Linked DNA regions of Homo sapiens: region 1 is linked to region 2. The links are contacts of gene promoters, found by promoter capture Hi-C in human tissues and cell types (Jung and others, 2019). All regions are on one chromosome and are shown on one strand. The core of a region is centred on a gene start or on the middle of the fragment in contact, and the rest is flanking DNA. Distances in the headings are between cores, read along the strand shown. Region 1 has its middle 38 kb from the start of ZNF354C. Region 2 holds the start of ZNF454 (zinc finger protein 454).

Evidence for each region. Contacts are between HindIII fragments. The study calls those that stand out against the background at their distance.
Region 1: a fragment that was not itself captured here is called in contact with the fragment with the promoter of ZNF454 in region 2 in 1 of the 25 tissues and cell types used here (small bowel).

What each region holds. Positions count from the first base shown.
Region 1 is chr5:179,096,807-179,100,378 of GRCh38, forward strand. No RefSeq gene overlaps it. Among named protein-coding and RNA genes, the nearest start is that of ZNF354C, 38 kb to the left of the region's middle. The HindIII fragment of the contact is 4,105 bases long and covers 1-3,572 here.
Region 2 is chr5:178,939,489-178,942,927 of GRCh38, forward strand. It overlaps ZNF454 (zinc finger protein 454), which reads left to right and starts at 1,710. Exons shown (of 5, transcript NM_001178089.3): 1 at 1,710-1,956; 2 at 3,197-3,336. The coding sequence starts at 3,304. It overlaps ZNF454-DT (ZNF454 divergent transcript), which reads right to left and starts at 1,527. Exons shown (of 1, transcript NR_186409.1): 1 at 1-1,527. The HindIII fragment of the contact is 17,658 bases long and covers 1-3,439 here.

The DNA.
Region 1 (3,572 bases), core at 270-2,769, 160 kb after region 2:
CTGAGCCACAAGGCAACTTTGAGGTTTACTTCTAAGATGGAGGTGACGAGGCAGATGCCTTTCCACCAAGGCACTAGGGTACACAATTCCTTCTGGATCCTTTAACAGATGGTTTTGGTTGCAGGTTCAAAGTCAAACAGTACGGTAGCCAAAGCCCCTTGGGGGACTGGGCCATTTCTGGGCTTGAACCCAGGAACAAGATTGGTGGATCAGCCAACTGGTGTTAGTCTGCACTCTCAAAATAATCCTCCAAGATCTTGGGCTCCACCAATATTTCACAAACTCCTATCTGAATCCTGAGGCAGAGAGACTTTTGATTCTGGATAGGCGCAGAATTCTTGTTGTTGTGGGGAGATGTGAGCAGGTTACCTTCTATTCTGCCATCTTGGTGACCAGAATTTTCTAATTTTCAATGTTTTTTTGACCTGTGATTTATTTAGAGGTATGATTTTTAAATTTCAAAAATATATTTTAGCTAAATTTTAAAATATTGATTTCTAATTTAATTTTGTAGTTAAGTTACATTAAGTAAAAAATCATTTCAATTTATTATTATTCTTTAATTGTCCAATATGTTGTCAGTTGTCATAAATATTTTGTATGTGTTTGAAAAGAATGTGAGTTGTTCAATTGTTGGAGGCTCAGAGATATATGTGTTTTCCTTAGATCAAGCTTGTTTGTTGTATTATTCAAATTATATATTATTATTTTTTCTGCTGAGCTATCAATTACTGAGAGACATGTTAAACTTTTTCCCTAGGATGGAGGCTTTGTCAATTTCTCCTTGAGGTTATGACAACTTTTGATATATTAACCAGGTTAATTGAACTTTGATATCTTTATAATATTTATTTCATGACCCTTGTCTATCCAGTAATTTTTTTTTGCCTGAAAATCAAAAGCCCTGTATATACAGAATTATGGTGATATATATTAGAAACACTGTAGTTTAAATTGCTTTAGAAATAAGGAAGAAACTGCCACATTTGGGAACTTTGCTAGGAATTTAAATGCCTATTCTCTTTCACCACTAAAACTTTGTGTTACGGGTTTGTCACACATTATTGGAAATGGCACTTAGTCTAATTCCAATTGTTAGAAATAGACAATTTTATATTAAAAGTTGAAATATAGGTTCCAGAAATTTCTGATTTGATAATTTAGGCCAAATATCCTGCTGAAAACAGCTAAAAAGGCAAACGGCTGAGCAAGAAAAAAAAAATGGCTGAAAGGTGAGGAGGGGATTGGAATTCAGAGAGGCGAGCCATAGCCACTAGAAAACTTAAACAATCATATGAACCAACTTGACCTAACTGACACCCCCAGAGCACTTTAGCCAACAACAGCAGACTACGCATTATTTTCAACACATACAAACCACATACCAGACCATTTACAAAGTCTCAATACATTTAAAAGGATTGAAATAACACAAAGTATGTTTTTCTGGCCACAATGATAGTAAATCAAACACAGGAATAAAACGGGCCCAGGCACAGTGGCTCACGCCTGTAATCCCAGCACTTTGGGAGGCTGAGGCAGGTGACTTACTTGAGGTCAGGCATTCGAGACCAGCCTGGCCAACATGGTGAAACGCCATCTCTAAAAATATAAAAATTAGCTGGGTGTGGTGGCACACACCTGCAATCCCAGCTACTTGGGAGGCTAAGGCAGGAGAATCGCTTGAACTTGGGAGGCAGACGTTGCAATGAGTCGAGATTGCACCACTGCACTCCAACCTGGGCAACAGAGTGAGACTCTGTCAAAAAAATAAATAAATAAATAAAATTGGGACATACCCAAGTATTTTGAAAATTAAAAACAATTTTTAATCCACGAGTAGAAGAGCAAACTAACCCAAAGCAAGAAGAAGAATATATTAAGGATTCAAATGAAAATCAGTGCAGTAGAAAATAGAAAAACAGGAGAGAAAAATCAGTGAAACAAAAAGTTGCTTCTTTGAAAAGACCAGCAAGATTGAAAAACCTTTAGCTAACGTAAGAAAAAAGGTAAAGGCCGGGCGCGGTGGCTCACGCCTGTAATCCCAGCACTTTGGGAGGCCGAGGCGGGTGGATCACGAGGTCAGGAGATCGAGACCATCCTGGCTAACAAGGTGAAACCCCGTCTCTACTAAAAATACAAAAAATTAGCCGGGCGCGGTGGCAGGCGCCTGTAGTCCCAGCTACTCGGGAGGCTGAGGCAGGAGAATGGCGTGAACCCGGGAAGCAGAGCTTGCAGTGAGCCGAGATTGCGCCACTGCAGTCCGCAGTCCGGCCTGGGCGACAGAGCGAGACTCCATCTCAAAAAAAAAAAAAAAAGAAAAAAGGTAAAAAAACACAAATGCATAAATAACGAGTGAATATGGGGATGTCATTACTGACCCTACAACAGTTGAAAGGATTATAAGGGAATACCAGGAATAATTGTATGGCAACAAATCAGATAACTCAAATGAAACAGAAATTTCTAGAAAGACACAAACTACCAAAAGTGATTCAAGAAGAAGAAATATAAAATCTTAATAGACTTATAATAAGCAAAAAAAAACCCACAAAAAACTGAATTCATAATATAAAATCTGGCCACAAAGAAAAGCCTGGGCCAGAGGTGTTCACTGGTGGTCTATCAAACATTTAAGACAGAGGTAATATCAATTCTTCACAAACTCTTCCAGTAGAAGGAATAGGAAGAACCACTTCCCAATTTATTCTATGAGGCCAGTATTACCCTGAAACCAAAGCCAAAGACATCATGAGAAAACTACAGAATAGAGGTACAAATGCCCTTAACAAAAGATTAGCGAAACAACTTCAGGAACAGAGAAAAAGAATTATATACCATGACCAAGTGGGATGTATCTGTGGAATGCAAGGTTGATTTAACATTTGAAAATCAATTAATATAATAGACAATATTAATAGGAGAAAGGACAAAATTTATGTGATTATCTCATTAGATACAAAAAAGATATTCAATAAAATCCAATACCCATTCATGATAAAAAAAAAACTCTCAATAAATTAGGAATAGAAGGCACCTTCCTCAGTCTAATAAAGTGCATCTCTAAGAAGCTTACAGCTAACATCATACTTAATGGTGAAATACTGCATGCTTTTCCTATACGATGAGGAATAAGGCAAGCATGTTTGCTCTTGCCATTTCTAGTCAGCATTGTAGGGAAGTTCTAGCCAGTCCAATAATAAAAAAGAAGGCAGTCCAGACTGAAAAAAGATAAATAAAACTGTATTTATTCACAAATATGAAGAAAATACCAGGACGGGCACAGTGGTTCACGCCAGTGGAACCAGCACTTTGGGAGGACCAGGTAGAAGGATCGCTTGAGTCCAGGAGTTTGAGACCAACCTGGGCAACATAGCAAAACCCTGTGTCTACAAAAACAAAACAAAACCAAAATAGCCAGGCATGGTGGCATGCACCTGTAGTCCCAGCTACTTTGGAGGCTGGGGAGGGAGGATTGCTTGTGTCCAGGAGGTCGAGGCTGCAGTGAGCTGTGATTATGCCACTGCATTTCAGCCTAGGCAACAGAGTGAGACCCTGTCTCAAAAAGAAAA
Region 2 (3,439 bases), core at 460-2,959:
TGCGTCTATCAAAACGTGCCCAGCCATGTCACTCTTTCAAATCTAATCATTTCCAGGCACAGAAATAAATCCAAATTTCCTTCCTTCAAGGCCTGTAGTTACTCCTGCAACAGCATCTCGCAGTCTTCCTTGTTCAGTAGGCCCTCGCCAGTCATACTGACCTTGCCAAGCCTGGAGTTCACCAAGCACACTTCTCTCTGGTCAGCATTTCTGTTCCCTCCCTTTAGAAGGCACTTTACCCATACAGTCACATCGTTTCTTCCCTCACTGTATTCAAATCTCTGCTCAGGTGTTACCTCCTCAAAGAGAACTTCCAAAACTGCTGCTTGAAATAATTCCCCGCCCCATCACACCCTAACCCCTAACAGTAGTGTTATCACTACCAGATAAATACTTTCTACTTGTCTGACCCCTCCTCTAGTACAATTAAAACTCCATGAGTGCAGGGTTTTCACAGCTATTTCTCCAGCCCCTGGACTCGGGGTTCTTACTCTCTGGAGCCCAGTTTGAGTGACCTGGAGTCACGAGGGAGGCGAGAGAGAAGGGTTACCAGCGATACTCACACAACATCCTCCCCCTCTGGTGCTTTGCCGGGTCCCTGGGAACTGCTACAGGGGCTGCACAGCGGCTGACCCTGGCCTTGTCAAGCACTTGACACATAAGTGCTCCAAAGTGTCTATGGAATGAAATCTTCAATAAAACTCCAAACAGAATGCTGTAGTCACTGACACTGCTTCCTAAAACGTGGCCAACAATTCCGTATGTGACAAACAGGTCACATTCTTGATTTTTTTTAACGACCAACAAAGTTAAAACCCTCTCATCTTTCCTTCCTGAGCTCCATGCAAATTACCTATTCAAAAGCAACTAAGTATCTCCAGTTGGATATTCTTAGGCATCATCTCATCCTTGCCAGTCTCTGCAAAATATGGTCGACAAAAATAAATACCACCTTCTTAAATACCACCCAGCTGTCCAAGATGGAGACTTCCTGGCATCCAGGCGCCTTCCTCTCCCTCGTCCCCACCTCTGAGAAGTTCCCAAGCACGAAGTGTTCTGCGTCCCGAACATTCCAGGGGCCGCCAGCCACCATGGGCTCTGTCCTGAGGTGCCAAGCAGGACATCCCTGCCCGACATCCTTGTCCTCCCGCACCGCACACGCGTTAGTGGCTGTGGCGTCGCCACCCCAGCACACGCTGGCCCGCCCGCAGTGCCAGGCTGGAAGTGTCGGGCGCTTGCCAGGCCAAGGGGCAATTCTGTTGCCTTCCAGGCCTTTTCGGCGCGGTCCCAGTCAGGAACGCGCCCTGTCGCCTCCCACTCCGTCTTCCGGACCCTCCCGATCCTCTCTCGTCAGCGATCGGGCGTCGCTCCCCTGGACTAACCTCCCTTGCCCCATCTTCAGCTTTTCGCTGATCTGCATCTTCCTGCGCCTTAGTGCAAGGCAGAGACCTGGTTCTAAAGCGAACGGAACGGAACCGATTCTGTAAGTTGCAATGAGCGCGCTGAGGTCGGCGTGGAGGGGTCTCTGGGAAAGGTAGTTTCCGCGCCTAAAGCGCCGGGGCCGGGCCCTGTTCCCGCAGGCGCAAGGCAGCACTGTCTCCGCCGATTGTCCCTCTGGGAAGTGGAGTCTGGCCGGCGGAACTGCAGCAGCCCTGAGACTTGTGGGAATTCGGCCCAAGGGTTCCCAGGGCAACGCGCAAGCGCAGTTCGGCTCCCGGCTGCAGACTCCAGCTCATTGTGTTCTGACTGCGATGTGGCGCTTGCGATCTCTCGCCGCCGGCAGAGGCTCCTCGAAGAGCGACACGGGGCTGACCAGGCACGGTGGTCAAAGCCGCAGAGGGAGAGCGGGAGCGGTCGTGAGGTCGTCTGGGGAGAAGGGCGGAGGCAAAGCCGAGGAGGTGCGGGTTGTGGTCCATTCTGGAGGACGCTGATCGAATGCCCCAAACTTCCCGGAATGTATGTCTGAGATTTGATCCCAGAGAGGGAGGACGGCCAGGGGTGGTCATCCTGGGCTGAGGGTCGAGTCTGTGAGTGCCTGTGGAGGAGATGGAGCCAGGGCCTCTGGCATGTGTCTTGGAGCGGACTCCGAGAAGCCCAGGGTTTCCTCTCAGGTGATAGATACACGCCTGGCGTGGTTCCGAGTCCTGCGCCAGGAACTCGCCAAGGCCGGAGGCAGCCGCTGCGCAGCCCCTGCCACAGCCCCCGAGGGACCTGGCGAAGCGGCAGGGGCGGGACGGGGCTGTGTGTGATTAGGGTTCCTAACCCTTCCCTCTCCCCTCCCGCCCAGCTCACACAAACGCCGCTTCTGCCCACCCGTGACTCCAGGCCACCCAGACTGGGCCCCAGAGAGTGAGAACACTGAGGCCAGAGAAGGGTTTGCCTGAGAGGCTTCGACAGTGAAGAGCCTTCTTAGCCTCCTTTCTGAGGAGGAAGAAGACCACCCTCCTTTTCCTCTTCTCCTGTCACTGCCAGATAAGGCAGCTGTTCCAAAGCCGCAGAGGGAGAGCGGAGCGGTCTTCCAATCCAGTCGAACCCAGACACTGCCCTCCGTTGCCTCTCCCCAGCGCTCCCACCTTTTCGGGTACATCCTGGTGGGTTCTGGAGCTGAATAACTTGTTAAAGAGATAATTCTCGGCCGAGTGCGGCGGCTCACGCCTGTAATCCCAGTACTTTGGGAGGCCGAGGCGAGCCGATCACCTGAGGTCCGGAGTTCGAGACCAGTCCGACCAACATGGTGAAATCCCGGTCTCTACTAAAAATATAAAAAATTAGCCGGGCGTGGTGGCGGGTGCGTGTAATCCCAGCTACTCCGGAGACTGGGGCGGGAGAATCGCTTGAACCCGGAAGGCGGAGGTTGCAGTGAGCCAAGATCGTGCCACTGCACTCCAGCCTAGGTGACAGAGCGAGACTCTGTCTCAAACAAACAAACAAAAAAAGAATTCTCTTGAGATCGCTCAGTGAGGCTGAAGGGAAAGACCAGAGGGTGGGTGGAAGGCATGAGAACTGGACCTGGAGCAGGCTTTCTGCAGGGAAAAGTCAATGTATAGTACCCTCAGAAGGAGGAGAGAGAATGGGGAGCAAACAGGAACCAAAACACTCACTGCTTGGGGTACTGGAGGCCTCCCAGGATGTGAATGCTCACTGCCTCGCTCTGGACTGCTGTATGAGAGCTTTTGACCCAGTTCTCTCCTAATAGCAGGTGTGTGGACCCTTCTAGCCTGAGGAGTCCTGCAGGTGTGAAGCTCCACACCTGCCTCCATAGCACTTTGCCTGTCCCTAAGAGGGCTCATCGGAGAAGAAAGAATGGCTGTCAGCCACCTGCCAACCATGGTCCAGGTGAGTGGGGGTTTCTTCCCCCTAAATTGCTTTCTGGATTTGAAGAGTGTGGCATGTTTGCTTCCTCAGACCGGGAGCTTTATTCCCAATCCAGTCCCACCCA